Regions from separate parts of the Homo sapiens genome. Here regions 1, 2 and 3 are each linked to region 4. The links are contacts of gene promoters, found by promoter capture Hi-C in human tissues and cell types (Jung and others, 2019). All regions are on one chromosome and are shown on one strand. The core of a region is centred on a gene start or on the middle of the fragment in contact, and the rest is flanking DNA. Distances in the headings are between cores, read along the strand shown.

The links. The method cuts DNA at HindIII sites, captures the fragments that hold promoters and counts their contacts. A contact is called where the count stands out against the background at its distance.
Region 1: a contact is called between a fragment that was not itself captured here and the fragment with the promoter of TRIP4 in region 4, in 1 of the 25 tissues and cell types used here (mesendoderm cells).
Region 2: a contact is called between a fragment that was not itself captured here and the fragment with the promoter of TRIP4 in region 4, in 1 of the 25 tissues and cell types used here (H1 embryonic stem cells).
Region 3: the fragment with the promoter of PIF1 here is called in contact with the fragment with the promoter of TRIP4 in region 4 in 1 of the 25 tissues and cell types used here (lymphoblastoid cells).

Annotation. Positions count from the first base shown.
Region 1 is chr15:64,081,478-64,088,247 of GRCh38, forward strand. All of the region lies in intron 2 of CIAO2A (cytosolic iron-sulfur assembly component 2A), which reads right to left. Among named protein-coding and RNA genes, the nearest start is that of CIAO2A, 9.0 kb to the right of the region's middle. The HindIII fragment of the contact is 9,527 bases long and covers 1-6,389 here.
Region 2 is chr15:64,661,882-64,669,349 of GRCh38, forward strand. The region is part of intron 3 of ZNF609 (zinc finger protein 609); the gene reads left to right. Among named protein-coding and RNA genes, the nearest start is that of OAZ2, 38 kb to the right of the region's middle. RefSeq lists enhancers at 4,433-5,132, 5,133-5,830. The HindIII fragment of the contact is 4,553 bases long and covers 2,373-6,925 here.
Region 3 is chr15:64,824,397-64,831,689 of GRCh38, forward strand. PIF1 (PIF1 5'-to-3' DNA helicase) reads right to left here and starts at 1,251. Exons shown (of 13, transcript NM_001286496.2): 1 at 1,173-1,251. RefSeq lists enhancers at 1-194, 1,384-1,513. The HindIII fragment of the contact is 20,575 bases long and covers 1-6,896 here.
Region 4 is chr15:64,382,914-64,389,578 of GRCh38, forward strand. It overlaps TRIP4 (thyroid hormone receptor interactor 4), which reads left to right and starts at 4,923. Exons shown (of 13, transcript NM_016213.5): 1 at 4,923-5,051. The coding sequence starts at 4,951. It also overlaps a transcript of PCLAF not described here. RefSeq lists enhancers at 4,638-5,138, 4,720-5,209, 5,139-5,639. The HindIII fragment of the contact is 11,205 bases long and covers 1-6,665 here.

The sequences.
Region 1 (6,770 bases), core at 376-2,875, 300 kb before region 4:
AGGCCATTTTTACTACATCAGTTGGCCTTCCAGCAAAAGTCAATTAACTCATTAAGCCTTTTTTTTTTTTTTTTTTTTGAGACGGAGTCTTGAACTGTCGCCCAGGCTGGAGTGCAGTGGCATGATCTCGGCTCACTGCAACCTCCGCCTCTCGGTTCAAGCAATTCTCCTGCCTCAGCCTCCCAAGTAGCTGGGATTACAGGCGCACACCACCACACCCAGTTAATTTTTATATATTTTTGGTACAGATGGGGTTTCACCATGTTGGCCAGGCTGGTCTCAAACTCTTTACCTCAAGTGATCCGCCTGCCTTAGCCTTCCAAAGTGCTAGGATTACAGGCATGAGCCACCCCACCCGGCCAATTCAATTAACTTTTTAAAATGCCCCACAACAGGCCAGGACACGCAAAAAAATAAAACAAGTCAAAGCCATTTTAAAAGGGCCACATAAAATCTCTCAAATTTGTAATCCTTTATGCCTGCAAGGTACAAATACAGTAACTTCTTTAAAACAAGTTCCACTGAAGTTCAGTTTATCATCCCATGCTAAGACACATCAACAAAACCTCAAACCATACAGCAATACAGCAAGATATAATTGTTAGACTACCTATCTTTTAGGGAGGTAGTAACTTGGTTTTGGTTTTCTAAGTACCATTTGGTTTTCTAAGAGAATTTTTTGAAAAATCCCAAAACAGGGAAAAGGATTAGATGAGATATAATGAGGTGGTGCCTGCCACAGGGTCTTTATTTACTTATTTATTTTTTTGAGACAGAGTCTTGCTCTATTGCCCAGGCTGGAGTACAGTGGCGAGATCTCAGCTCACTGCAACCTCTACCTCCTGGGTTCAAGAGATTCTCCTGTCTCGGCCTCCTGAGTAGCTGGGACTACAGAAGCACGCTACCACACCCACTAATTTTTGTATTTTTAGTAGAGACAAGGTTTCATCATGTTGGCCAGGCTGGTCTTGAACTTCTGACCTCAAGTGATCTGCCCGCCTCGGCCTCCCAAAGTGCTGGTATTATAGGCATGAGCCACCGCGCCCGACCTTATAGAGTCTTGAACACAGTAGTTCTATAATAAATATTAGAGAATTCTAAAGAAAATATATTATTTCCTTAAGAGGGTCTCTCTTCAGAGGATCTGCCTTAAAGCATATCTGGGAGAGTTCCTCTTCCCCTGGCCCCACCATTGTCTCCTTAATTTGTTATCTGTGTACTGTCTGAATATCCTCACGTATTTTAGTCACTATTGGTAGGTGTTTTACAATTCGCAAAGCACTTTTTTGAGCATCATTATCCTCAAGAGAGGTAGTACAGCATAACTGAGATACTTTGGGTTTCAAAAGTAGCTTCACTACATACTCGCTGTGATCCTGCATAAGTTACTTAACCTCTCTGAGCTTCAGTTTCCTTATCTGCAAAACAGGCATTATAGTATCAGCTGGGCAAGGTGGCTCATGCCTGTAATCCCAGCACTTTGGGAAGCCAAGGCGGGAGGACTGCTTGAGCCCAGGAGTTCAAGACCAGCCTGGGCAACGTAGCAAGACCCCATCTCTAAAAGTAATAATAATAATAATAATAATAAAACTTAAAAATATATATAATAATATCACAATATATAGGGTTGCTATGAGGAATAACCTGTTATGCAATGTGTTTAAAACAGTACCTGACACATAAGTGTACAATAATAGTATAAAAATAATTACTATAAATAGTAAAAAATAATAGTATAAAATATTACTATTTTATACTATTTTATAATTTTCATTTTACAGCCAAGAAACCAAGGTAGGTGATTTAACATTACTTAGCTAACAAGTGGCAGAGGTAGAACCCAAACCTACACCTTCTGACCTCCAAACCCTAAGACCGTTCCCATTGGACCACAGCTGCCTTCAGCCATTCTTATCTGGAATAAGTCACCACAAATGATTATCAACTTGTTTCCCTGCCTTACCCTCTTGTTCCCTTGGAGTCTTCCTTGTCAATCACTTACCAAGGTAACATTGAGTAGGTGATACTCTTACTCAGGCACCTTTCCAGGCTAGGACTACCTGCTCTGGAGGAATATCTGTTAACACATCAGACAGACGAAGGCTTCTCTCAAGTTTTCCAGCTGTGTTGACTGAACAAAACTACTATGATACACTATTATACAATTCTCTAAAAAACCAATAGGCCGGGTGTGGCAGCTCACACTTGTAATCCCAGCACTTTGGGAGGCCGAGGTGGGCGGATCACTTGAGGCTAGGAGTTTGAGACTAGCCTGGGTAACATGGAGAAACCCCGTCTCTATTGAAAATACAAAAAATTAGTTGGGCATGGTGGCACGCGCCTATGATCCCAGCTACTTGGAGGCCGAGGCACGAGAATCGCTTGAACCCAGGAGGCAGAGGTTGCAGTAAGCCAAGACAGCACCACTGCTTTCCAACCTGGGCAACAGAGCAAGACTCTGTCTCAAAAAAAAATAAAATAAAATAAAATAAAAATAAAAAATAAAAAGCCAATGGTCTTAGCTGAAATGCATAACGAAAGGGCTAAGACAAAACTTTCTACAGGAAGTGTACAGATCTGAAATATCAACTATAATCTAATGTTAGCACCCTTACAGAACAGTTTTTATTTCATGCACTCTCCTGATATTTGTCCACGTACACATTTTTCTATAACTGCAATCATGATGCAATTTGAACTTATTCAAGCTTTTTCATGTTTTTTTTCTTTTTTAAGAGATTGCTGGTTTCAAACTCCTAGGCTCCAGTGATCCTCTCGCCTCGGCCTCCCAAAGTGTTACAATTACAGGTGTGGGCCACCACGTCTGGCGAATATTTTCTTCTATAAAATTAGTTCCTTAACTCCTGCGTCAAACAGTATAAACTTCCAGATAGGGATTTACCAATATATACCATGAGGCTTCAAAATACTTACATAATCTAACCCAATTATTCCACGTATAGGAATTTATCCTGATGCAATAATGAGATATATAAAAATATTTATATAAGGCCAGGCACGGAGGCTCACCCCTCTAATTCCAGCACTTTGGGAGGCCAAGGCAGGCGGATCACCTGAGGTTGGGAGTTAGAGACCAGCCTGACCAACATAGAGAAACCACATCTCTATTAAAAATACAAAATTAGCCAGGTGTGGTGGTGCATGTCTGTAATCCCAGCTGCTTGGGAGGCTGAGGCAGGAGAATCGCTTGAACCTGGGAGGTGGAGGTTGTGGTGAACCAAGATCATGCCATTGCACTCCAGCCTGGGCAACAAGAGTGAAACTCCGTCTCAAAAAATAAATAAATAAAAATATTTATATATAAAGTTGTTCGGTCAGGCGCGGTGGCTCACACCTGTAATCCCAGCACTTTGGTAGGCCAAAGAGGGCAGATCACTTGAGGTCACAAGTTCGAGACCAGCCTGGCCAACATGGTGAAACCCCGTCTCTACTAAAAATACAAAAATTAGCTGGGCTTGGTGGAGGATGCCTGTAATCCTAGCTACTCGGGAGGCTGAAGCGGAGAATCACTTGAACCTGGGAGGTGGAAGCTCCAGTGGCCACTACACTCCAGCCTGGCCAATAAAGTGAGACTCTGTCTCAAAAAATAAAATAAAATAAAATAAAATAAAATAAAATAAAATAAAGTTGCTCATCACAGTATTATTTATAATTGCAAAAGGCTAGAAGTAGTCCAAATGGTTACAAAACTTCTGATGTACCAATATGATTAGCATGTAACCTATAACTATATAATTAAAGAATATTTAATGATGGCCAGGTATGGTGGCTCATGCCTGTAATCCCAGCACTTGGGGAGGCTGAGGCATGAGCCCAGGAATTTGAGACCAGCCTGGGCAACATGGCAAAACTAGCCAGGCATAGTGGCACCTGCCTGAAGTTCTAACTTTTCAGGAGACTGAGGTGGGAGGATCACTTGAGCCCGGGAGGTGGAGGCTGCCTGCAGTGAGCCGAGATCGTGTCATTGCATTCCAGCCTGGGTGACAGAGTGAGACCCTGTCTCAACAACAAAAAAAATTTAAAAAAAGAAATATTTAATGAGAAAAATAATTCATGTATTTCATGCTATTACTTAACTCTTACGACTCTATAGATATCCTTATTATTCCTGTTTTACAGATAAGGAAACTGGGTCTTGGAAAGGTTAAGTAACTTGCCGAAGCCCACAATACGGTACAGCCAATAGACCTGGAATTTTAGCCCAGAGCATATATTCTTTTTTTTTTTTGAGACGGAGTCTCGCACTGTAGCCTGGGCTGGAGTGCAGTGGCGTGACCTTCGCTCACTGCAACCTCCGCCTCCCGGGTTCAAGCGATTCTCCTGCCTCAGCCTCCCACGTAGCTGGGATTACAGGCGCCCGCCACCACGCCCAGCTAATTTTTTGCATTTTTGGTAGAGACAGGGTTTCACTACGTTGGCCAGGCTGGTCTCAAACTCCTGACCTCATGATCTGCCCGCCTCGGCCTCCCAAAGTGCTGGGATTACAAGAGTGAGCCACTGCACCCAGTGACATTCTTTCATAATAGCTGGTTTTTTTCTTTATGTTTTTGTGGGGTATCAAAATTACTGCCAATAAACATGTTACTCATATAATTTAAATAAATGTTAATTTTAAAAATGAATTTGCTGGCTGGGAGTGGTGGCTCACACCTGTAATCCCAGCACTTTGGGAGGCCGAGGTGGGCAGATCACCTGATATTGGAAGTTCGAGACCAGCCTGGCCAACATAGTGAAACCCCATCTCTACTAAAAATACAAAAAAAATTAGCCAGGCATGGTGGCGGGCGCCTGTAATTGCAGCTACTTGGGAGGCTGAGGCAAGAGAATCGCTTGAACCTGGCAGGCGGAGGTTGCAGTAAGCCAAGATTGCACCATTGCGCTCCAGCCTGGGTGACAAGAGTTAAACTCCAGCTCAAAAAATAAATAAATAAATAAATTTGCTATAGGTTCTTGAACTCTCCATTTAAGAACTCTTTCTTATATGTCAAAATATTTTAAGACACCCCCTCCACAACACCCACAGCAGTACTTTCAGTATCTGTTCGTTCACAAATTGTCCAATGACCAAAAATAACCATGCATTCAGCATTCAGTAATGCTTTTTCTAGCAATGGGATTTTTTTTTTTTTTTTTGAGACAGAGTCTTACTCTGTTGCTTAGGCTGGAGTGCAGTGGCGCAATCTCAGCTCACTGCAACCTCCACCTCCCATGTTCAAGCGATTCTCCTGCCTCAGCCTCCCGAGTAGCCGGGATTACAGGTGCGTGCCACCATGCCCAGCTAATTTTTGTATTTTTAGTAGAGATGGGGTTTCACCATGTTGGCCAGGCTGGTCTTGAACTTCTGACCTCAAGTGATCCACTGCCTTGGCCTCCCAAAGTGCTGGGATTACAGGTGTGAGCCGCCATGCCAATGGGAATTTTTTTTTTTTGAGATGAAGTTTTTGCTCTTGTTGCCCAGGTTGGTGTGCAATGGCATGATCTCAGCTCACTGCAACCTCTGCCTCCCAGGTTCAAGTAATTCTCCTGCCTCAGCCTCTCAAGTAGCTGGGATTACAGGTGTGTGCCACCATGCCTTGCTAATTTTGCTTTTTTTTTTTTTTTTTTTTTTGGGAGATAAGAGTCTCGCTCTGATGCCCAGGCTGGAGTGCAGTGGTGCAATCTCGGCTCACTGCAAACTCCGCTTCCCGGGTTCACGCCATTCTCCTGCCTCAGCCTCCTGAGTAGCTGGGACTACAGGCACCCGTCACCATGCCTGGCTAATTTTTTATAGTTTTAGTAGAGACAGGGTTTCACCATGTTACCCAGGATGGTCTCCATCTCCTGACCTCGTGATCTGCCCGCCTCGGCCACCTAAAGTGCTGGGATTACAGGCGTAAGCCACCGCGCCCGGCCTAATTTTGTATTTTTTTTAGTGGAGATGGGGTTTCACCATGTTGGTCAGGCTTGTCTCAAACTCCTGACCTCAAGTGATCTACCCACCTTGGCCTCCCAAAGTGCTGGGATTACAGGTGTGAGCCACCACGCCCGGTCACCAATGGGATTTTAATAACCACAATAATACCTATGGATTCACAGACCTCCAGTCCCTCAAGATGTGGCCTATATGGTGGAAACCACCAGCAGAGGGAACCCAGGTCAACCAGTGAGAAAAGACAGAAATCACAATAGTGGAAATAATAACGAAATAGCGACCTTTTCAATCTTTTTTATAAACTTGTTGCTTTTTAATAGGTGAGATAGTCCCATGGTTTGAAAATGTAAAAACATAAAAAGGTATAAAGTCTCCCTCCCACCCTTTCCCCCATCTGCCCAGCTCCCACCACCACTATTACCCGCTAACACCCTTATAGCTATTCATTTATGTATTAATATTATTCAGGCATATGCAATCAAATACAAATGTATGTTTTTGCTTTTTTTACACAAATGATAGCAAAATGATACTTGCTTTTATTTCTTAACAGTATGTCATAGAGATCTCTCCATATCAGTACATGCAGAGCTTCTTCATTCTTTTTTATAGCTGCATAGTATTCCACTGTTTATATTCACCATCAATGATTATTTAATCAATCCCCTACTCATGAACATTTGGTTTGAAATAAAATCCCTTTATAACAAAGCATATGTTCAAATACATTTATTGTACCTGCTAACAAATCCAAAATACTGGGAATCCAACCTCCTACCAGGACTTCTACCCATACTATGTAGAAACCAGAAGAGTCACTGAAAGGAGATGGTGATGG
Region 2 (7,468 bases), core at 3,399-5,898, 280 kb after region 4:
GTAGACATTATTCCAGGTTATCTGTTATGTAACAAATTAACCTAAAACATAGTTGTCTAAAACAATAAATATTATCTCACAGAGTTTCTGTGGCTCAGGAATTCAGGAGTAGCTTAACTGGGTGGTCTGACTCAGGGTCTCTCATGAGGTTGTAGTCAGTTGTTGACTGGGGCTGCCATCATCTGAAAGCATATCTGGGGCTGGAGGATCCTCTTCCAAGTTGCTTCACTACATGACTATTGGCAGAGGGCTTCAGTTGCTGGCCTCGTGGACTTCTCCATAGGGCTGCTTAAGTGTTCTCACAAAATGGCTGCTGTCATCCCTAAGGGAAGAAATCCCAGAGAGAAAGCAAGGAGGAACCCCCAATAATACCTTTTATCACCTTGTCTCAAAAGTCATGCACCATCACTTCTGCAAGTTGCTAAAGGCAGCTCACACTCCAGGGGATGAGAATTAGGCCCCATCTTTTTTTTTTCCTCTGTGAATTAGGCTGGAGTGCAGGGGCAACATCTCAACTCATTACAGCCTAGATCTCCCGGGCTCAAGTGATCCCCCCATGTCAGCCTCCATAGTAGTTGGCACTACAGGCACATGCCAACAAGCCCAGATAATTTAAAGAATTTTTTAGAGACAGGGTCTCACTACATTGCCCAGGCTAGTTTCGAATTCCTATGCTCAAGCAATCCTCCCACCTTGGCCTCCCAAAATGCTGAGATTACAGGCATGAGCCACCATGCTTGGCCATGAAGCATTTTTAAAACATTGAGATATTTCTACTAAAACTAATAATTTTTTTTTTCTTGAGACAGGGTCTCTTTCTGTTGCCCAGACGGGAGTGCAGTGGCGCGATCTCGGATCACCACAACCTCTGCCTCCCAGGCTCACGCGATTCTCTTGCCTCAGCCTCCTCAGGAGCTGGGATTACAGGCACGCGCCACTACTGCCCGGCTAATTTTTGTATTTTTAGTAAAGATGGGGTTTCACCATGTTGACCAGGCTGGTCTTGAACTCCGGACCTAAGATGATCCACCTGCCTCGGCCTCCCAAATTGCTGAGATTACAGGCATGAGCCACCGTGCTTGGCTAACTAATAACTATTTTTATGTGTTTTTTTGGGAATAGGTGATACATACAGATGTATGTATCACCTATACCTGTATGTATGAGTTCAAAAGCTAAAAGGTTTTATACAGAGAAATGATAGGATATGAGAGGTTTTATTTAACAGGATCTCTCTGGTCTCTGTGTTGAGAACAGGTCAGAAAGTGATAAAGATGGAAGCAAGTTAGGAAGCTATTGCAATAATTTAAGGAGTGCTTGGAGCAGTAGAAGTGGAGGTAATGAGAAATGATCAAAATCTGGATATATTTTGAAGGTTGAGCCAAAAAGATTTGCTGATGGTCAGGTGTGGGGACATGGATAGTAGGAGAGGAACCAAGTAAAACTCTAAGGGTTTTGACCTGAACACCTAGAAGGATGTACACATGCCATTACCTCAGATAGGGAGAATTCAGAGCAAGTTGTTTTTGTTGTTCTTGGAGGAGAGGGTTGTTAAGGAGAGGATGGGTATCAGGAGCTCAGTTTGGAACATATTAAGTTTGAGATCTCCATTTAGACGTCCAATGGAAATGTCAAGTTTGTGATTAGATACATGAATCTGGAGTTTAGGGGAGAGGTTGGGGCTAGGGATAGAAGTTTGAGTCATCAGCTACACATGAAGTACCAGCAAAAGATGCTGAGGAATGACCAGAGAGATAGGAGGAAAACCAGGAGAGTATGGTGTTCTGGAAGCCAAGTGAAGGAAGCGTTTCAAGAAGGGAATTGGTCTGAGCATGAAGGAGCTGAGCATGAAGGTACCAGATCCCTGAGAGAAAGTATGTACTAATGGAAATAGTAAAAATGAGGGGCCTAGAAAAAAATCTCTCTCTCTCTTTCTACTATTATACTTGGATCAGCCTTGACTACACAAATGTTTTGAGGTTTTGAATTATTATCTGAAACAAAGCAGTGCTGCTTTGGGATTGAGTTTGTCTCAGCATTTCACTCCTAAGAACTGTGGGAACCTGGCCAGTCGTGGTGGCTCATGCCTGTAATCCCAGCACTTTGGGAGCCCGAGGCAGGTGGATCACCTGAGGCAGGACTTCGAGACCAGCCTGACCAACATGGTGAAACAGTATCTCTACTAATAATACAAAAATTAACGAGGTGTGGTGGTGCACACCTGTAATCCCAGCTGCTTGGGAGGCTGAGGCAGGAGTATTGCTTGAGCCTGGGAGGCAGAGGCTGGAGTGAGCCGAGATTGCACCACTGCACTCCAGCCTGGGTGACACAGTGAGTCTCTGTCTCAAAAATAATAATAATAATAACTAGGGGAACCTGACTAGTGCCTCATACATGTCATCATTTTCCCTTTACTCTGCTCCAATATTTATCACCTTGAAGAAGGGAGAATAGTGAGTACTCTAAAACTTAATAATGGGTACTTAGATTATGTCCATAAGACTTGGTAAATCTGAAAGTAAGATTCTAGAGAAACACGGAGCACTATTTATTACTGCTGTTTTTTAGCAGTATTATCCTCAAACATGCTGAGCCTTTCCTTATTTTGTGAACACTTATGAAAAATAGTAAGTTTTCCAAGATGAAGACCAGTTTTTCTTTCTCTTCAGCCTACTTGCTTCTCTAAAGCTAGCCCCTAATAGAGAAACTTGGTCTGTTAAGTGTTATTTGCTGCTTTTCTTTCCTGTCGTCCTATTCTCCAGCTGTCTCAACTCGGAACCTTGCAGGAAGACTATTAAACCTCATCAATGTGTGTTTCCTTTGACATTTAAACAAGCCTCCATTTTGTCTTTCCATATCATAATTTTTTCTCTTCCCTTCTCCCATTTCCAGCACCTTGTTTGACCTGTCTTCTCTTCAGCTCATTCATTATTGCTAAAGTTTGCAGATTATACCAAAGGAAGAAGCCTGATTTATAAACATGTGTTCCCACCCAGCTGTTTCAAGAATAGTAATGAGATTCATCTTCTAGTTGTGTGCCTGCTCTCTGTGTACAGCTGTGCTCATCTGCCCTTATAAATGAGATGCCTATCTCTAAGTCTTACCTTCTCTATAAATGGACTCTGTTCCTATTAAATTGATTATGCAGTAATCAGAGCAGGCCACCTTTTGGGGGAGACATCCATTTGAAATCACTTTGCTAATAGCTAGAGAGAATTTAGCCTAATTACTTCTTTAGGAGAGATGCCATTTCCCTTAAGATGCCAGGGCACTGCAAAGGGATAGGATTCCTATCCTTTTCCCCTCTGGATGACCCCCTGCAATCCTGTATGTGTATGTGTCTTTTATCTAAGGTGAAGGTAACAGGATATTCTAAGAAAATTGTGTGAAAACAATCAGAATCCATTAGAGATAGCTGTGTCAGGCCTTAGAGTCTGAAAGATCTGACCACTAATAGTGAACCCTTGAGTAAATGATTTATCCTTTCTGGTGTATCATTTCCTCCTTTGCAAAGTAGCCTTAACAATCCTTATATGACAGGATTTTTGGCACCCACTTATGGCCTGCCTTCCTCAAAAAGTGATTTAAGACCAGGTGCCGTGGCTCATGCCTGTAATCCCAGCTCTTTAGGAAACCAAGGCAGGAGGATCACTTGAGACCAGGAGTTGAAACCAGCCTGGGTAACATAGTGAGACTCTGTCTCTATTTTTAAACAAACAGAAAAAATTATAAAAAGTAAACAAATGGGCCGGGCCCGGTGGCGCATGCCTGTAATCCCAGCACTTTGGAAGGCCGAGGCAGGCAGATCACCTGAGGTCAGGAGTTTGAGACCAGCCTCAACATGGAGAAACCCCATATCTACTAAAAATATAAAATTAGCTGGGCGTGGTGGTACATGCCTGTAATCCCAGCTACTCGGGAGGCTGAGGCAGGAGAATTGCTTGAACCTGGGAGGCGGAGGTTGCGATGACCCAAGATCACGCCATTGCACTCCAGTCTAGGCAACAAGAGCAAAACTCCATCTCAAAAATAAAAATTAAAATTAAAAATTAAATTAAAAAATAAATAAACAAATGCCAGCTACTCAGGAGGCTGAGGCAGGAGAATCGCTTGAACCCAGGAGGCGGAGGTTGCAGTGAGTAGGGATTGCGCCACTGCACTCCACCCTGGGCAACAGAGCAAGACTTCGTCTCAAAAAAAAAAAAAAACACACACACACAAATAAAAATAAAAGTGATTGGCCTAGTGACTACTGTAATCTCAGCACTTTGGGAGACCAAGTTGGGTGGATCGCTTGGGGCCAGGAGTTCAAAACCAGCCTGGCCAACATGGTATAACCCTGTCTTTACTAAAAACACAAAAATCAGCCATGCATGGTGGCACACGCCTGTAATCCCAGCTACTTGGGAGGCTGAGGCACAAGAATTGCTTGAACCTGGGAGGCGGAGGTTGCAGTGAGCCAAGATTGCACTACTGCACTCTAGCTTGGACAACAGAGCGAGACTCTGTCCAAAATAAAAATAATTAAATAAAAATAAAAGTGATTTAAGGCTGTAAATATTCAATAAGATAATATGAAAACATCTAGCACATAATAGTTTTATTTTTCTTTTTTACTTTATTGTATTTATTTATTTTTTGAGATGAAGCCTTGCTCTGTCGCCGAGGCTGGAGTGCAGTAGCACAATCTCAGCTCACTGCAACACCTCCTTGAACACCTCCTGGGTTCAAGCAGTTCTCTTGCCACAGCCTCCTGAGTAGCTGGGACTACAGGCGCCCACCACCACGCCCAGCTAATTTTTGTATTTTTAGTAGAGATGGGGTTTCACCATCTTGGCCAGGCTGGCTGGTCTTGGACCCCTGACCTCAAGTGATCACTCGCCTTGGCATCCCAAAGTGCTGGGATTACAGGCATGAGCCACCGCACCCGGCTTAATCCTATATTTTTAAAAATCTAAGATTTGGGCCAGGCGCGGTGGCTCATGCCTGTAATCCCAGCACTTTGGGGAGGCCGAGGCGGGCGGATCATGAGATCAGGAGATCAAGACCATCCTGGCTAACATGGTAAACCCTGTCTCTACTAAAAAATACAACAAAAATTAGCCGGGTGTGGTGATGTGCGCCTCTAGTCCCAGCTACTCGGGGGGCTGAGGCAGGAGAATGGCGTGAACCCGGGAGACGGAGCTTATAGTGAGCCGAGATTCGTGCCACTGCACTTCAGCCTGGGCGACAGAGCGAGACTCTGTCTCAAAAAAACAAAACAAACAAAAAAACCCTGAGATTTGTAGAAGCCAAGTGACTTGTTCAAGGTTACACTATAACAAAGCCAGGATTTGCACTGAGGTTTTCTAACTCCATGTCCAGTGATTTTTAGACAACATTGTATGTCGAAGAATAAATGAATATAAGTGAGTTACTAGAGATATGTCCTAGAAGTGCCAAATCAAAAAGTATTTTATTAGTGGGTGGCCGTAGACAAACAAAAGCTAATTCCAGATCCCCCAGATTTATTGTCTTGATATATTCCATAGAAAATATGCCTTGGAGCTGGGTGTGGTGGCTAACACCTGTAATCCCAACACTTTGGGAGTCTGAGGTGGGCAGATCACCTGAGGTCGGGAGTTCGAGACCGGCCTGACCAACATGGTGAAACCCTGTCTCTGCTTAAAAAAAATACAAAATTAGCCCGGGCATGGTGGCACCTGCCGTAATCCCAGCTACTCAGGAGGCTGAGGCAGGAGAATCACTTGAACCCAGGAGGTGGAGGTTGCAATGAGCTGAGATCAGGCCATTGCACTTCAGCCTGGGCAACAAGAGTGAAACTCTGTCTCAAAAAAAAAAGAAAAAGAAAAAGAAACACAGATGCAAGTCACTAAGTGGGGCTGAATCTGTGGACTGGCTGACCTCCAGATCTGGGAACAAAGAGTAGTCGTGAGAGGTGATTTCAGAGGAGTAAATAGATACTAAAAAAGCTCATAGACTAAGAATGTGAGGCCAGGAGAGTGAGATGCTAACCCCCAACCAGCCTTATGAAAGGAGGCTTAAAATAAGTTAATTGTTGAGTGGAGGAGGGAAGCTTTAAGGAGTTGGGAAGGACTGTGTCAAGCTGCCTCCTGATTCATTATTAGAATAGAAGTGTGATATCCTAAATTTCACTGTGGCATAGGCCATTTGAAGACCTGTTGTACTGAGTCCCTAGGGGGCCAGAAGAAAGAAATTGCAAAGTGATGAGACAGAGAAAGGGGAAAAAGTAATAACAAAGACATTCCACTCAATATGAGGCTGCAAACCAAAATGTTAATAATAGAAATCTAATGTTAAGAAAGATAACCAATAAAAACCAGGACTTCCACTTCAGAGAAGATGGAGTAGACAGATTTTTCCCTATTCCTCCCCTAAATACAACTAAAAACTCTGGAAATTATTTATAAAACAAATACAACAAGACTGTGAAACGTGGAAGAAAGAAGGCAGACCAGCCATGGGTCACAAGACCTTAGAAACAACATGGTGATGAGTTCCCTGGGTTTTCTTTTTGTCTCTAATATCCCAGACATGGCGCTAAAACTGAATATTATATTTAATGGTAAAAGACTGAATGGAGCCAAGTGTGGTGGCTCACACCTATAATCCCAGCACTTTGGAAAGCCAAGGCAGATGGATTGCTTGATCTCAGGAGTTCAAGACCAGCCTGGGCAAAATGGTCTTGACAAGAGGATAGCTTGAGCCCGAGTTTGAGCCCAATCTGGGCAACATAACAAGACATTGTCTCTAAAAGAATTAAAATGCCAGCCAGGTGCGGTGGCTCATGCCTGTAATCCCAGCACTTTGGGAGGTTGAGGCAGGCGGATCACATGAGGTCGGGAGATTGAGACCAGCCTGACCAACATGGAGAAACTCTGTCTCTACTAAAAATACAAAATTAGCTGGGGGTGGTGGTGCATGCCTATAATCCTAGCTACTTGGGAGGCTGAGGCGGAGAATTGCTTGAACCCAGGAGGCGGAGGTTGCAGTGAGCGGAGATCACACCATTGCACTCCAGCCTGGGCAACAAGAGCGAAACTCCGTCTCAAAAAAAAAAAAAAAAAAAAAAAAAGGAATTAAAATGCCAAAAAAAAACCCTATATAAAACATAATTTTTCTTTTATCAGATTGGCAAAGAACAAAATGAGAACATCATGTTGCCAAAGGAAAAGGGCAAGAGGTATTCATGGGCTACTATAAATGGGTATATGAATGAGTATGTCCTCTTTGAGGCAATTTGGAGGTGGTTTGGCCGTATTTGTGAGAACTCCAAATACAAGTGCACTGTGATTAACAGTTTTACTTACAGGAATTCATCTTACAGACATATTTGTGTAGGTAAAATGAAGCATTTGTACAAGATTATTCATTGCAGTTTATTTGTAATAGCAGAAGATTGAAACAACCTAAATGTCCGTTCAAATGCTGCCATTGAAAAGAATGA
Region 3 (7,293 bases), core at 1-2,500, 440 kb after region 4:
ACGTAATGGGTGCTATAGGGGACGTAATGGGTGCTATAAAGGACGTGACAGGGAGCAGGGTCAAGGCTACACAAGATCACGAGGACTGTCACTGGTAACACAAAGAGGTCACAAAGACGGAGAAAGGGCTTTGGGCTAACCGAAAATCCACCCTTAGAATATGCCCTGGGCCGGGCGCAGTGGCTCGCGCTTTAATCCCAGCACTTTGGGAGGCTAAAGTGGGCGGATCACCTGAAGTTAGGAGTTCTGAGACCAGCCTGGCCAACATGGTGAAACCTCGTCTCTACTAAAAATACAAAAATTAGCCGGGCGTGGTGGCGGGCGCTTGTAATTCCAGCACTTTGGGAGGCTGAAGAAGGAAGATCGCTTGAGCCCAGGAACTCGAGACCATCCTGGGCAACATAGCGACACCCTCTAATTAAAAAAAAAATACATACATATAAATACATACATATGCATACATTATATATATGTGTGTGTGTGTGTGTATATATATGTATATATATATATACACACACGCACCCTGCTACACAATTTCCATTTCTATATATCCAATTTCTATATATATATACACACAATATATATACAATTTCTATATATATACACACACACACACACACACATATACACACACACCGTGCTACACAACAATTTCCAGAGCGGCGGATGGGCACCGAGGATTAGGGAGCCTCAGGTGTCCTGCAAGGACCTCACTAGAACAGGGGTCCCTGCGCAGAAAGAATCCTCCTTCCCCGAGACCCAGGGCGAGCACATGAATCCTCAGAGTACTCTCCCCAGGAAGCAGGAGAATCGCCCGTGGGGAGATGCAAAGAGGGCTGCCGTGTAATAAGCGACTTCTGCCTTGTAGGTACATTCACTGGCTTATATGCAGCGGGCAGGTCTCACTCTTCCCCGTGTACAGACGTGGAAACAGGCTAAGAGAGGGAAACTCACTTGCCCTTCATAAGCCACAGCGGCTAGTAGTCAAAGTCAGTGTGATTCCCATGCCCTCGCGCTTCCCACCACCAAGGTGGGGACGAGGTGGAAAATATTCGGCTAGGGAAATCGCGGGGGACCCTGGGACCCTAGAAGCCGTGCTCCCTCAGGCTGACCCATTTGTTTGCACCCTCCCGCCGGAAACCCCTAGATAAATCAGGCTCTTTGCTCCCCACCTCTGGGTTCGGGCAGACACTCACTTGTGCCGACACTCAGATGAACAAGCAGATCGTAGCCGGCCTGTGGCTAAGCTCCGAAACTAGAAATTTTTCAAATGCTAGAGGCAGAAAATCACCCAATCACCGACTGGATCTTTAAATTCTCCAGCCACTCAGAGGTAGGGGCGTAACAATGGGCGTGTCTTTCTTTGCGTCTCTACTCCAGGAGCTTGGGCTGTACCAATTGCCTGCTAGAGGAAGGAGGTTTATGGTGGTGGCTGAGCATACCAAATCCAGTGGACGGCTGGGCGTGGTGGGAGGAGGCCGCCGCTGCGGCAGCCACCCGGCGGCGCGTGGTGTCGGGTCTGAAAACCCTACGCGACTCCGAAGATTTATTTTCAGAACCATCCTTCCAGCACACTCCCTCTCCCCTCTAGCCCGCACACAGAGGCTGGGCTTAGCCTTGGGGAAGATCTGCCTTTGGACTCTCACACCCCTGTTTACACTCACAGTACCATTGTCCAGTTCTGGGCAGACCACCCCAAGGCCTGCCCAATCCCTCCCCCGCCCCCAACTCTACATCCTTCTCTGCCTTTGTAAGGGACTTTACGCTTTGGCTCTCTCACCCACCTGAGGCCCATGAGTGAGAAACTCTGAGACCTGTGCCACGTGCCAGAGGGTACAGCGGAAGCGAGTAGAGTCTCTGTCTTCAGGGAAATTGTATCCCTCTTCTTGCACAGGATGCTGAAAGAATTTACTTTTAATCATCTTTATTATCTCATTGAAGCTTGGAATTACATAGCTGGAAAGGATCTTACAGGTGAGTCTGGCTACCTCATTTTACAGATAATGATAACTACCATGGATTAAATTGCCCTTTCCTTTCCTTTTTCCTTCTTAGGGCTCACTCTGTCGCCCAGGCTGTAGTGGAGTGCAGTGGCACAATCTCTGCTCACTGCAACCTCTGCCGTGGCGCGATCGTGGCTCACTGCAACCTCCGCCTCCTGGGCTCTGGTGATCCTCCCGCCTCAGCCCCCCAGGTAGCTGGAACTACAGATGCACACCCAGCTAATTTATATATATATATATATATATATATATATATATATATATATACACACACACACACATATATACACACACATATATATACACACACATATATATATACACACACATATATATATATACACACACATATATATATATAATTTTTTTTTCGTATAGACGGGATGTCACCATGTTTCCCAGGCTTGTCTCGAACTCCGGAGGTCAAACGATCCACCCACCGTGGCCTCCCGAAGTCCTAGGATTACAGGCATGAGCCCGGACCTTATTTTTCAAATGAGAAAAAAGCAAGGCTTCCAGAGATTTTACTGAAGGTCACATAGCTGATATGGAGAGCAAAACCAAACATTGAACCCAGATTACCTGCTCGCTTAATCACTCCATGGGGCTTAGCTACTACACCACACTGCTCCCAGTCTGTTAGCGGTAGAGGGTGATGACTGAAAGTTGTCCAGGTTCTTGGCGTTTTGAACAAAGAATTGGACAAAATGCCCATCAAAGCAAAGAAAGAATGAAGCAACAAAAGAACAAAAGCAGGAATTTTTTGAAAACGAAAGTACGGCTAGGCGCGGTGGCTCACGCCTGTAATCCCAGCACTTTGGGAGGCCGAGGTGGGGGGATCACTTGAGGTCAGCAGTTCCAGACCACCCTGACCAACATGGTGAAACCCTGTCTCTACTAAAAATACAAAAATTGCCGGGTGTCGTCGTGGACATCTGTAATCCCAGCTGCTTGGGAGGCTGAGGCATGAGAATCACTTGAATCCAGGAGGCAGAAGATACAGTGAGCCTGGATCGTGCCGCTGCACTCCAGCCTGAGCGACAGAACGAGAACTTGTCTCAAAACAAACAACAACAACAAAAAACAAAAACGAAAGTACACTCCACAGTGTGGGAGGGGACCCGAGATACAGAATTTTCTTGGGTTCAAATACCCCCTAGAAGTTTCCCATTGGGAACTTTACGCTTACTTCATGTAACTGAAGTGGTAGCGATAATCAGTCTGATTGGTTGCAGACAGCAACCATTCAGCCACCATTCAGAGGCTGGAGTGAAGTTACAAAGTTGCAAACGAAGACTGGACCCACACTCCTATGATTTGTTGCAGACAGCCAATCTCCCATCTGCCAATCTCCCATCTGCCATGCGGGAAACGTCAAAGGGAGTAGCCTTTGGTCCTTTTGTTCTTGTCCTTACTTAGGAGTGGAAAGTTAGAGTTTTCCTTTTTTTTTTTTTTTTTTTTTTTTTTTTTTGGGAGACAGCGTCTGGCTCTGTGCTCTGTTGCCCAGGCCGGAGTGCAGTGGCAGGATCTCGGCTCACTGCAACTTCTGCCTCCTGGGTTCAAGCGATTCTTCTGCCTCAGCTTCCCAAGTAGCTGGGACTACAGGTGCGTGCCACCATGCCCATTTAATTTTTGTATATTTGGTAGAGATGGGGTTTCACCATATTGGCCAGGCTGGTCTCGAACTCCTGACTTCGTGATCCGCCTACCTCGGCCTCCCAAAGTGCTGAGATTACAGGCGTGAGCCACCATGCCCGGCCAGGGTTTTCTTTTTTCTTCTTCTTCTTCTTCTTATTTTTTTGAGGTGGAGTCTCTATTTGTTGCCAGGCTGGAGTGCAGAGGCGCTATCTTGGCTCACTGCAACCTCTGCCTCCCCCATTCAAGCGATTCTCCTGCCTTAGCCTCCCAAGTAGCTAGGACTACAGGTGCATGCCACCATGCCCAGCTAATTTTTGTATATTTAGTAGAGACGGGGTTTCACCATGTTGGCCTGGATGGTCTCAATCTCTTGACATTGTGATCTGCCCGCCTCGGCCTCCCAAAGTGATGGGATTACAGGTGTGAGCCACTGTGCCCAGCCGGGTTTTCCTTTTAATTTAATTCTAGGAAGTCGGCGTGAAACAGCCTTAGGTTCCCTGCCTCCAGACCCTGTTCTTCTGCCTCAAGGTGACTGGCCTAGCTTCATGAAAGGTATAACCTGGACTGGAATCTCAGCTAGTAACAGCCACTGCAATGCCTTTCCAGTGGATGCTACCCTAAGCAGGTTTCCATAATGTCTCAAGCCTCTGTTTTCTCAAAATGGGAGAAAGATAAAAATAGTCTAAAATTGATTGGTGATAGTTGCACAACCCCGTGACTATACTGAAAACCATTGAATCGAATGCTTTGAATGCTTAAATTGTATGGTATGTGAATTATATCTCCATAAACCTGTTAGAAATCTTTTTTTTTTTTTTGAGACAGGTTGTCACTCTGCCACCCAGGCTGGAGTACAGTGGCACAATCATAACTCACTGCCGCCTTGACCTTCCTGCTCAAGTGATCCTCCCATCTCAGCCTCCCAAGTAGTTGGAACTACAGATGACTACCACCACGCCTAGCAAATTTTTGTATATTTTATAGAGACTAGGGTCTCGCCATGTTGCCCAGGCTGGTCTCGAACTCCTGGTCTCAAGAGATCTGCCAGCCTCAGCCTGCCAGAGTGCTGGGATTACAGGAGGGTGCCACCATGCCTGGCTGGAAAGAAATCTTGAGAGATATTTTTCTTCTCCAGTGTTGTCTTGACATATATTGAATATCAGTGGCATGCGTCATTGTGTATGAGTAAATGAGTAGGTTAAGAAAAATTTTCAGCTGGGTGTGGTGGCTCACGTCTGTAATCCCACCACTTTGGGAAGCTGAGGCAGGTGGATCATGAGGTCAGGAGTTCAAGACCAGCCTGGCCAAGGTGGTGAAACCCCATCTTTACTAAAAATACAAAAATTAGCTGGGTGTGGTTGCAGGCATCTGTAATCCCAGCTACTCGGGAGGCTGAGGCAGGAGAATCGCTTGAACCCAGGAGACAGAGGTTGCAGTGAGCCAGGATCGCACCACTGCACTCCAGGCTGGGCGACAGAGCGAGACTCTGTCTCAAAAAAAAAAAAAAAAAAAAAAAGAGAAAAGTTTTCAAGGTCATTATGGTAGGCAGAATAATGACCCCCTTCCCCAAAATGTCCATGTTCAAATCCCTAGAATTTGTGAATATTATCTTACATTGGCAAAAGGGACTTTGCAGATATGATTAAGTTTTTTTTGTTGTTTGTTTTTTTTTTTTGAGGCGGAGTTTCACTCTTTTTGCCCAGGCTAGAATGCAATGGCATGATCTCAGCTCACTACAATCTCCACCTCCCGGGTTCAAGCAATTCTCCTGCCTCAGCCTCCCTAGTAGCTGGGATTACAGGCATGCGCCACCACACCTGGCTAATTTTGTATTTTTAGTAGAGACAGGGTTTCTCCATGTTGGTCAGGCTGGTCTTGTACTCCTACCTCAAGTGATCCGCCCACCTCGGCCTCCCAAAGTGCTGGGATTACAGGCGTTAGCCACCACACCCGATCATGGTTAAGTTTTTTGAGATGAAGATGTTATTCTGGATTATATGAGTGGCCCAATGTAATCACAGGGGAAAGAAGGAAACAGGAGTCAGAGAAGATATGACAAAGGAAGTAGAGTTGAGAGAGAGAGAAAGAGAGACGTGAAGATGTTACTGCTGGCTTTGAGGTTGGAGGCAAGGGCCACAGACTAAACCAAGGAAGGCAGGAGCTCTCTAGAAGCTGGAAAGGGCAGGGAAATGGATTATCTCCTGGAGTCTCCAGAAGAAAAACAGCTTTTGATTTTAGTACAGTAGGACACATTTCAGACTCCTGGCTTCCAGAATGACAAGATGATAAATTTTTGTTGTTTTAAGCCACTAAATGTATGATAATTTGTTATAGCAGCCATAGAAATAAGAAACAAATACAGCCACATAGAGAGAAAATGAAAGAGCTGGGATTATGAACCCAGGTCTGTTTCCAAAGCCTGTGTTCTCTCTTTCCACTGCTCTCTGCTTACAATGGGCCTAGCGCACTTACACACAGGGGAAGCCAAATCCCTTACCCTGATTCTGTGTGCAATACCCCAGACTGCTTCAAGGGAAGGCACCAGAATGTCCCAATGGATTTTCTCTTAATATGTTTTTTTTTGTTTTGGCTTTCAAACTTTTTTTTTTTCTTTTTTTGAGACAGTCTCGCTCTGTCGCCCAGGCTGGAGTGCAGTGGCGCAATCACGGCTCACTGCAAGCTCCGCCTCCCGGGTTCACGCCATTCTCCTGCCTCAGCCTCCCGAGTAGCTGGGACTACAGGCGCCCGCCACTACGCCCAGCTAATTTTTTGTATTTTTAGTAGAGACGGGGTTTCACCGTGTTAGCCAGGATGGTCTCGATCTCCTGACCTCGTGATCTGCCCGCCTCTGCCTCCCAAAGTGCTGGGATTACAGGCGTGAGCCATCGCGCCCGGCCTTGGCTTTCAAACTTTTTAAAAACAATTGTGGAAAAATATACACGACATTTATCGTTTTAATTATTTTTAAGTGTATAATTCATGGCATTAAGTACATTCCAAATGTATAACCATCACCACAATTTAATTAATTAATTAATTTATTTATTTATTTTGAGACAAAGTCTCACTCTGCTGCTCAGGCTAGAGTACAATGGCACGATCTCGGCTCACTGCAACCCCTGCCTCCTGGGTTCAAGCGATTCTCCTGCCTCCGATTCCCGAGTAGCTGGGACTACACCTGCCTGCCACCACGCCCGGCTAATTTTTGTATTTTTAGTAGAGACGGGGTTTCACTATGCTGGCCAGGCTGGTCTCGATCTCCCGACCTCAGGCGGTCCACCTGCCTCGGCCTCCCCAAGTGCTGGGATTACAGGCATGAGCCACTGCACCTGGCCACAATTTATTTATTTATTTTTTCACTTTCCCCCACAATTTATTTTTGAATGTTTTCATTATTTCACATAGAAACTTCATCCAGTTCAGGCGTGGTAGCTCACGCCTATAATCCCAGCACTTGGGGAGGCCAAGGCGGGTGGATTACCTGAGGTCAGGAGTTTGAGGCCAGCCTGACCAACAAAGTGAAACCCCATCTCTACTAAAAATACAAAAATTTGCCGGGGGTGGTGGTGGGCACCTGTAGTCCCAACTACTCAGGAGGCTGAGACAGGAGAATGGCGTGAACCCGGGAGGTGGATGTTGTAGTGAGCCGAGA
Region 4 (6,665 bases), core at 3,673-6,172:
CCCGGGAGGCGGAGGTTGCAGTGAGCCGAGATCACGCTACTGCACTCCAGCCTGGGCGACAGGGCGAGTCTCCGTCTCTAAAAACAACAACAAAAAACAGGATCAGATGAACTTGCTTTGGGATGTATTCTGTTAAATGCTCACTTGAAAGGCTACTCTAGAAGTGTAAACACAGCATTAATTCTCTCCAATGAATTGCTCGAACTTAGAATTAGGCTACTCAGTACTTTAACAGAATCAACAACTGCACTCTGTAACACAGATTTAAGGAATCTAGGCAACAGGTTAAATTAACACAATAATAGAAAATGTATTGGCAATTACCTGTAGTTTTGTCTTAACCTTGGTATCTAAGGTTACAGCCAAATCAACCGGAAAAATCCACAAGACCCAGGGCATTCCTTTGTTTTTTGTCCTCATGGCCCATCTCATTGCACAGTGGTTTTTTTGTGTGTGTGTTTTTTTTTTTTTGAGATGGAGTCTCACTTCTTCGCCCAGGTTGGAATGCAGTGGCGTGTTCTCGGCTCACTGCAATCTCCGCCTCCCGGGTTCAAGCAATTCTCCTGCCTCAGCCTCCCACGTAGCTGGGATTACAGACACGTGCCAAAACACTCGGCTAATTTTTGTATTTTCAGTAGAGACAGGGTTTCACCATGTTGGCCAGGCTGGTCTCAAACTCCTGACCTCAAGTGATCTGCCTGCCTCAGCCTCCCAAAGTGCTGGGATTACAAGTGTAAGCCACCACACCTGGCCAGCACAGTGGTTCTTAAATGCCATTATTTCCTTTCCAGTTTAAGTGGCTTCTACATAGGTCTGAATTACTTAATTTGAACTTATATTCCAGATTCCTGCAGAAAGAATAAGATAGTCTTTTCTCCTTGCCCACCTGCCAAGCAAGTTGCCAGAAAGAGTATCAAATATATATTTCCACCCGGGGCAGTCTACATATTACTATAGTTGTGTGTTTGTTTTTGTTTGCATGTTTGTCATTTTAACACCAACGATGATAATGAAGAATGCATGCTAGAGAAAAAAAAAAAGTGCTGATGCCTAGTAAAAGTTCTTCATTGAAATGTTTGCTTTGCAGAAGCAATTAAACACAATTTTTATAATGAAATAAAACACAGAGAGTGGTGTGGAGTGAACCTGAAAATTTCAAAGGCCTAGGGCATTAAGAAAAGTTACAGTATGTATCAATACAATTTCTGCCTAAATTTATTTATTTTATTTATTAATTTTGAGACAGAGTCTCACTCTGTCATCCAGGCTGGAATGCAGTGGCACGATCTCAGCTCAATGCAACCTCTGTCTCCCGGTTCAAGCAATTCTCATGCCTCAGCCGCCCATGTAGCTGGGATTACAGGTATGTGCCACCACATCCAGCTAACTTTTGTATTTTCAGTAGAGACAGGGTTTTACCATGCTGGCCAGGCTGGTCTTGAACTCCTGACCTCAGGTGATCTGCCTGCCTCGGCCTCCCAAAGTGCTGGGATTACAGGTGTGAGCCACTGCAACTGGCCTGCCTACATTTATACCAAAGAAAATCTTGGCCGGCGCAGTGGCTCATGCTTATAATCCCAGCAATTTGGGAGGCAGAGGCAGGTAGATCAACTGAGGTCAGGAGTTCGAGACCAGCCTGGCCAAAATGGTGAAACCCCATCTCTACAAAAATACAAAAACTAGCCAGGCATGATGGCTGGTGCCTGTAATCCCAGCTACTTGGGAGGCTGAGGCAGGAGAATCACTGGAACCTGGGAGGTGGAGGTTGCAGTGAGCCCAGATCATGCCATTGCACTCCAGCCTGGGTGATGGAGCAAGAATGTCTAAAAAAAAAAAAAAAAGAAAAGAAAAGAAAAAAGAGATCTTTAAGTCTTGCTAAATGGGTGTGCTTGCATTGCTCAGGCAGAAATGTAATTTAACAAATGACAGTAATAATAAATTGCATTATAATTACATCATAATTAACATATGACTTATGAGAAAAGAATGCCTTTTTCTTTTTTTGAGACAGGGTCTCACTCTGTCACGCAGGCTAGAGTGCAGTGGTGTGATCACAGTTTACTGCAGCCTCGCCTCCTGAGCTCAGGTGATCCTCTTCCAAGTAGCTGGGAACACAGGAGCTTGCCACCACACCTAGCTAATTTTTAGGTTTTTTTTGTAGAGACAGGGTCTCCTGATATTGCCCAGACTGGTCTCGAATTTCCGAGTTCAACCAATCCTCCCACCTCAGCCTCCCAAAATGCTGAGATTACCGGTGTGGGCTACGGTACCCAGCCACCTATGTTATTCTGGAGGACGTACTTATCATAACATGTATGACATACTAAATTATATTATATGAAAAAACTTAAGTCATAGTCTCTGCCTTCAAGCACTTAATGTTTTAGTTATGGAGACTGTTATGGTTAATTTTAGGTGTCAACTTGACCAGATTAAGAAATACCTAGAGGGCTTGTAATCCCAGCACTTTGGGAGGCCGAGGCGGGAGGATCACCTAAAGTCGGGAGTTTGAGACCAGCCTGACCAACATGGAGAAACCCCATCTCTACTACAAATACAAAATTAGCCGCGCATGGTGGCACATGCCTGTAATCCCAGCTACTCGGGAAGCTAAGGCAGGAAAATCGCTTGAACCCGGGAGGCGGAGGTTGTGGTGAGCCAAGATTGCACTATTGCACTCCAGCCTGGGCAACAAGAGGAAACTCCATCTCAAAAAAAGAAAAAGAAAAAAAAAAGAAAAAGAAAAAGAAATACCTAGATAACTTGTAAAGCATTGCTTCTGGGTGCCTTTGAGGGTATTTCCAAAGGAGACTGGCATGTGAGTCAGTGGACTGAGTGGGGCAGATCTGCTCTCAATGTGAGCGGGCACCATCCAATTAACCAAGGACCCAGAACAAAAAAGGTGAGAAAAAATATTTCTTCCTTCTGGAGCTGAGACACTCTTCTCAGACTTCTGCTCCCAGACATCAGAACTCCAGGCCCTCCACCTTGAGACTTGAAGATTTCACAACTTGGACTGAGCCAGCTACCAGCATTCCAGGGTCTCCTGCTTGCAGATGGCCTGTCATGGGTCTTTTCAGTCTCCATAATTTCCTGAGCCAATTCCCTAATAAATCTCCTCATAGATCTGTATCTATATCTATCTGTTATCTATCCTATTGGTTCTGTCTCTGGAGAACCCTAACACAGGGACTGAATAAATAAACAGGTAAATGACTTTGATACCTTACAATTATTATTAAATGTAGTGGAGTTTTACAAAGAAACAAAACTTGTACCCACAATTAATAAACATTCACAGAGTATTTTGACTTTTTCTTAAAAAAAAAAACCCTGGAAAATCATCTGCTTTCCAAATTAATGATATCTACGACAATCTAAATGGAATGTAAATCAATACACTTATGAGGTTTTGTTTTGTTTTTGTAAAAAGGCCTTGCTCTGTCGCCCAGGCTGGAGTGCAGTAGTGCAATCAGGGCTCACTTCAAGCTTGACCTTCCAGGCCCAAGTGATCCTCCCACCTCAGCCTTTCAAGTAGCTGAGACTACAGGCATGTGCCACCATGCCAGGCTAATTTTTTTCATTTTTGTAGAGATGAGGATTCTCCTTATGCTGCCCAGACTGGTCCGGAACTCCTGGGCTCAAGTGATCCTCTTGCCTCTGATTCCCAAAGTGCTGGCATTACAGGCATGAGCCACCACGCCCAGTGTGTGTGTGTGTGTGTGTGTGTGTGTTTGTGTGTGTGTCTCCGTGTGCGCTCGGGTGATCCTCCCGCCTCGGCCTCCCAAAGCGCTGGGATTACAGGCATGAGACACTGCGCCCGGCCAATACACTCATGATTTTAATTATAATATTTATGCCAATGAAAACACTAGCAAAAAGGTAAAACAGCTGCCAATTTAATGTGACCACTTAGTCTAAACAGGCTAGTAGAAATGAAGAACTTTTAACCTGCAAATGCAACAAAAAGCCAGAAATGAATGGGAAGACATTATGATCTCCAGAAAAGTTTGGCTAAATTTTCCCCAGCCCATTGTCTTAGCGGGGTAGGGAATTGCAGACAGCCCTTAAATACTGTCATTTTTGGTTGAGAACTCATGTGGAAAGTCCTCAAAGCCAAATTCCAACTCCTGTTTTACTGTTTTTTACCCTCGAGCTTGCTGAGTTGTCTTGGCTCTCCTGGAAAATACATGGCTCAAAAAATAAAATAGAAGTTTTAGCGGTGTGAATCTAGTAGTCGACTACAGGGGGTATTAAAAATAAACACTCCATCCCGGTTAACACGTGAAACCGCGTCGCTACTAAAAATACAAAAAAAATTAGCCGGGCGTGGTGGCGGGTGCCTGTAGTCCCAGCTACTTGGGAGGCTGAGGCAGGAGAATGGCATGAACCCGGGAGGCGGAGCTTGCAGTGAGCCGAGATCATGCCACTGCACTCAAGCCTGGGCGACAGTGCGAGACTCCGTCTCAAAATAAATAAATAAATTAATTAATTAATTAAAAAATTAAAACCACCACCAGAGCAAAAACTTACAGCGCTTACAATACCTTCCACGTGCTGTTTTATTTTACATAAAACCATGACGATTAAAAAGCTGGCCTCTCAGCTTTCCGGGTATTGGTTTGTTTTCCCCCTAAACTGTCGTTTTTATAGGCACTTGCACTGTCTTCTTAGCAGAATTGCCAATGGCCTTCCTCGAGTCCTACGTTTAGCGATTGGCAAGAATCATGCACTGACAGAGCTCGACTCCGGAGGGCACAAGGAAGTAGACAACAAAGCAGGAAGAAGCAGGAGGCGCACAGATGGGCGGGATCTGCACTGGAGGCGGTGCGACCTTGCGGGGCGGTGCAAGCTGGCGGAACCCGCGTGAGAGAGGTTGGTGTTGCGAAGGGAACTAGTCCGGTGCAGGACGTGGGGCTTTTGCAGCTCAGCTGGTTCCGGCTGGGGAAGATGGCGGTGGCTGGGGCGGTGTCCGGGGAGCCGCTGGTGCACTGGTGCACCCAGCAGTTGCGGAAGACTTTCGGCCTGGATGTCAGCGAGGAGATCATTCAGTGAGAACAGTTCGGGTCCAAGCGGGGAAGGAGCTCTGGGATGTGCACTGCCTGAGCGAACCGGGAAGCGGGGAGGACTGAAAAGTTAAGAGAGAAATGTGATAAAGGGGCTGCAGTCTGTAGTCTGTAGGCGTCGAATTTTGGCCTCCACCTTTGTAGTTTAGTTTCTGGAATAGGGTGTCCGGCTCCACAGTCTGCCGGTCGGGCTTTTTTCCTGGGAAGACGCCCAATCTGTAATAATTAGAAATGCAAGGCTGTCCCAGGAGCCAGTTTCCTTTCTAGAGAGAAGGGGCAGGTCAAACTGTATTTCCTAACTTTGAACCCCTTACTCTTTTATTTATTTATTATTATTGTTGTTATTATTGAGACGGAGTCTCTGTCGCCCAGGCTGGCGTGCGGTGGCGCGATCTTGGCTCACTGCAACCTCCGCCTTCCGGGTTCAGGTGATTCACCTGCCTGAGCCTCCCAAGTAGCTGGGATTACAGGCACGCACCACCACACCCGGCTAATTTTTAAAAATTTTTAGTAGAGTCAGTGTTTCACCATGTTGGCCAGGCTAGTCTCCAGCTCCTGATCTCAAGTGATCCGCCCGCCTCGACCTCCCAAAGTGCTGGGATTACAGGCATGAGCCACCGCACCCAGATATACTCTGAACATTTTAGTCGGCCCAATCTGAGTTGTGTCAGTAGAGCCAACAGGGTCAGCTGTGTCAATAGGACCTAGAATTTAAGTGGAAGCAGCGTGGTAGAGTACAAATAGCTTCTGACTCTGGAGTCTCAGGTTCTATATTCTGTTGTCGTTTACCTGTTTTAGAACCCAGGACAACTTAATTTTTCTCTCTGTACCCTGGTTTCTTCATTTATAAGATTAATCATTAGTAGAGCTTATCATGCTTTATGACTCCTATGAAATGGAGATGGTGTACATGACTTAATATCTACTTTCAACTGATTGAAGAACATTTGTTGCGCTGCTGTTACACGCCAGGTGCTGGGGTAACAAAGACAAGACAGTTGGGTTCCCCTTCGTTGATGAGTGCTGAGGTTGGGGAAATGAAGGGGCTTGTTGGAGCACAAAATAAAGGATTCTCATTAAGATTTGAAAAACTCGGAAGGTTTATTGGAAAGGATAACTTTCACCCGAGAACTAAGGAATAGACAGAGGTGGCGGTCCAAAGTGTTCAGGCAGGGGAGAAAACTACAAAAATGGGACTTGATCGAAGAACTGAAAGTGTTCCTTCATTTGATTCCTTGGTCACTGATGTTGAAACCTAAATTGCTGTTCTAGGGCTTTTGTAGGAAGTAAGATGAGTTTCTGAGTTTCGGAGAAAATAGACTTTTGGCAAGGAGACAGTTCAAGTAGGTTATTTTAATGGATTTTTTTGAGGCCCTAGGAGATGGCTCAAGCCCTTATTCCCAGCACTTTGGGAGGTAGAGGTGGGAGGATTGCTTGAGACTGGGAGTTGGAGACCACCCTGGGCAACATAGTGAGACCCTGTCTCTACAGAAATAAAAAAAGTAAACAACAAGATAAAGGATTTTTTTTAACACTAGAATAGACAACAAAACAAAACAGCGAAATCTTATGGTTTGGCTTTACCCTTGCTTGAACGCA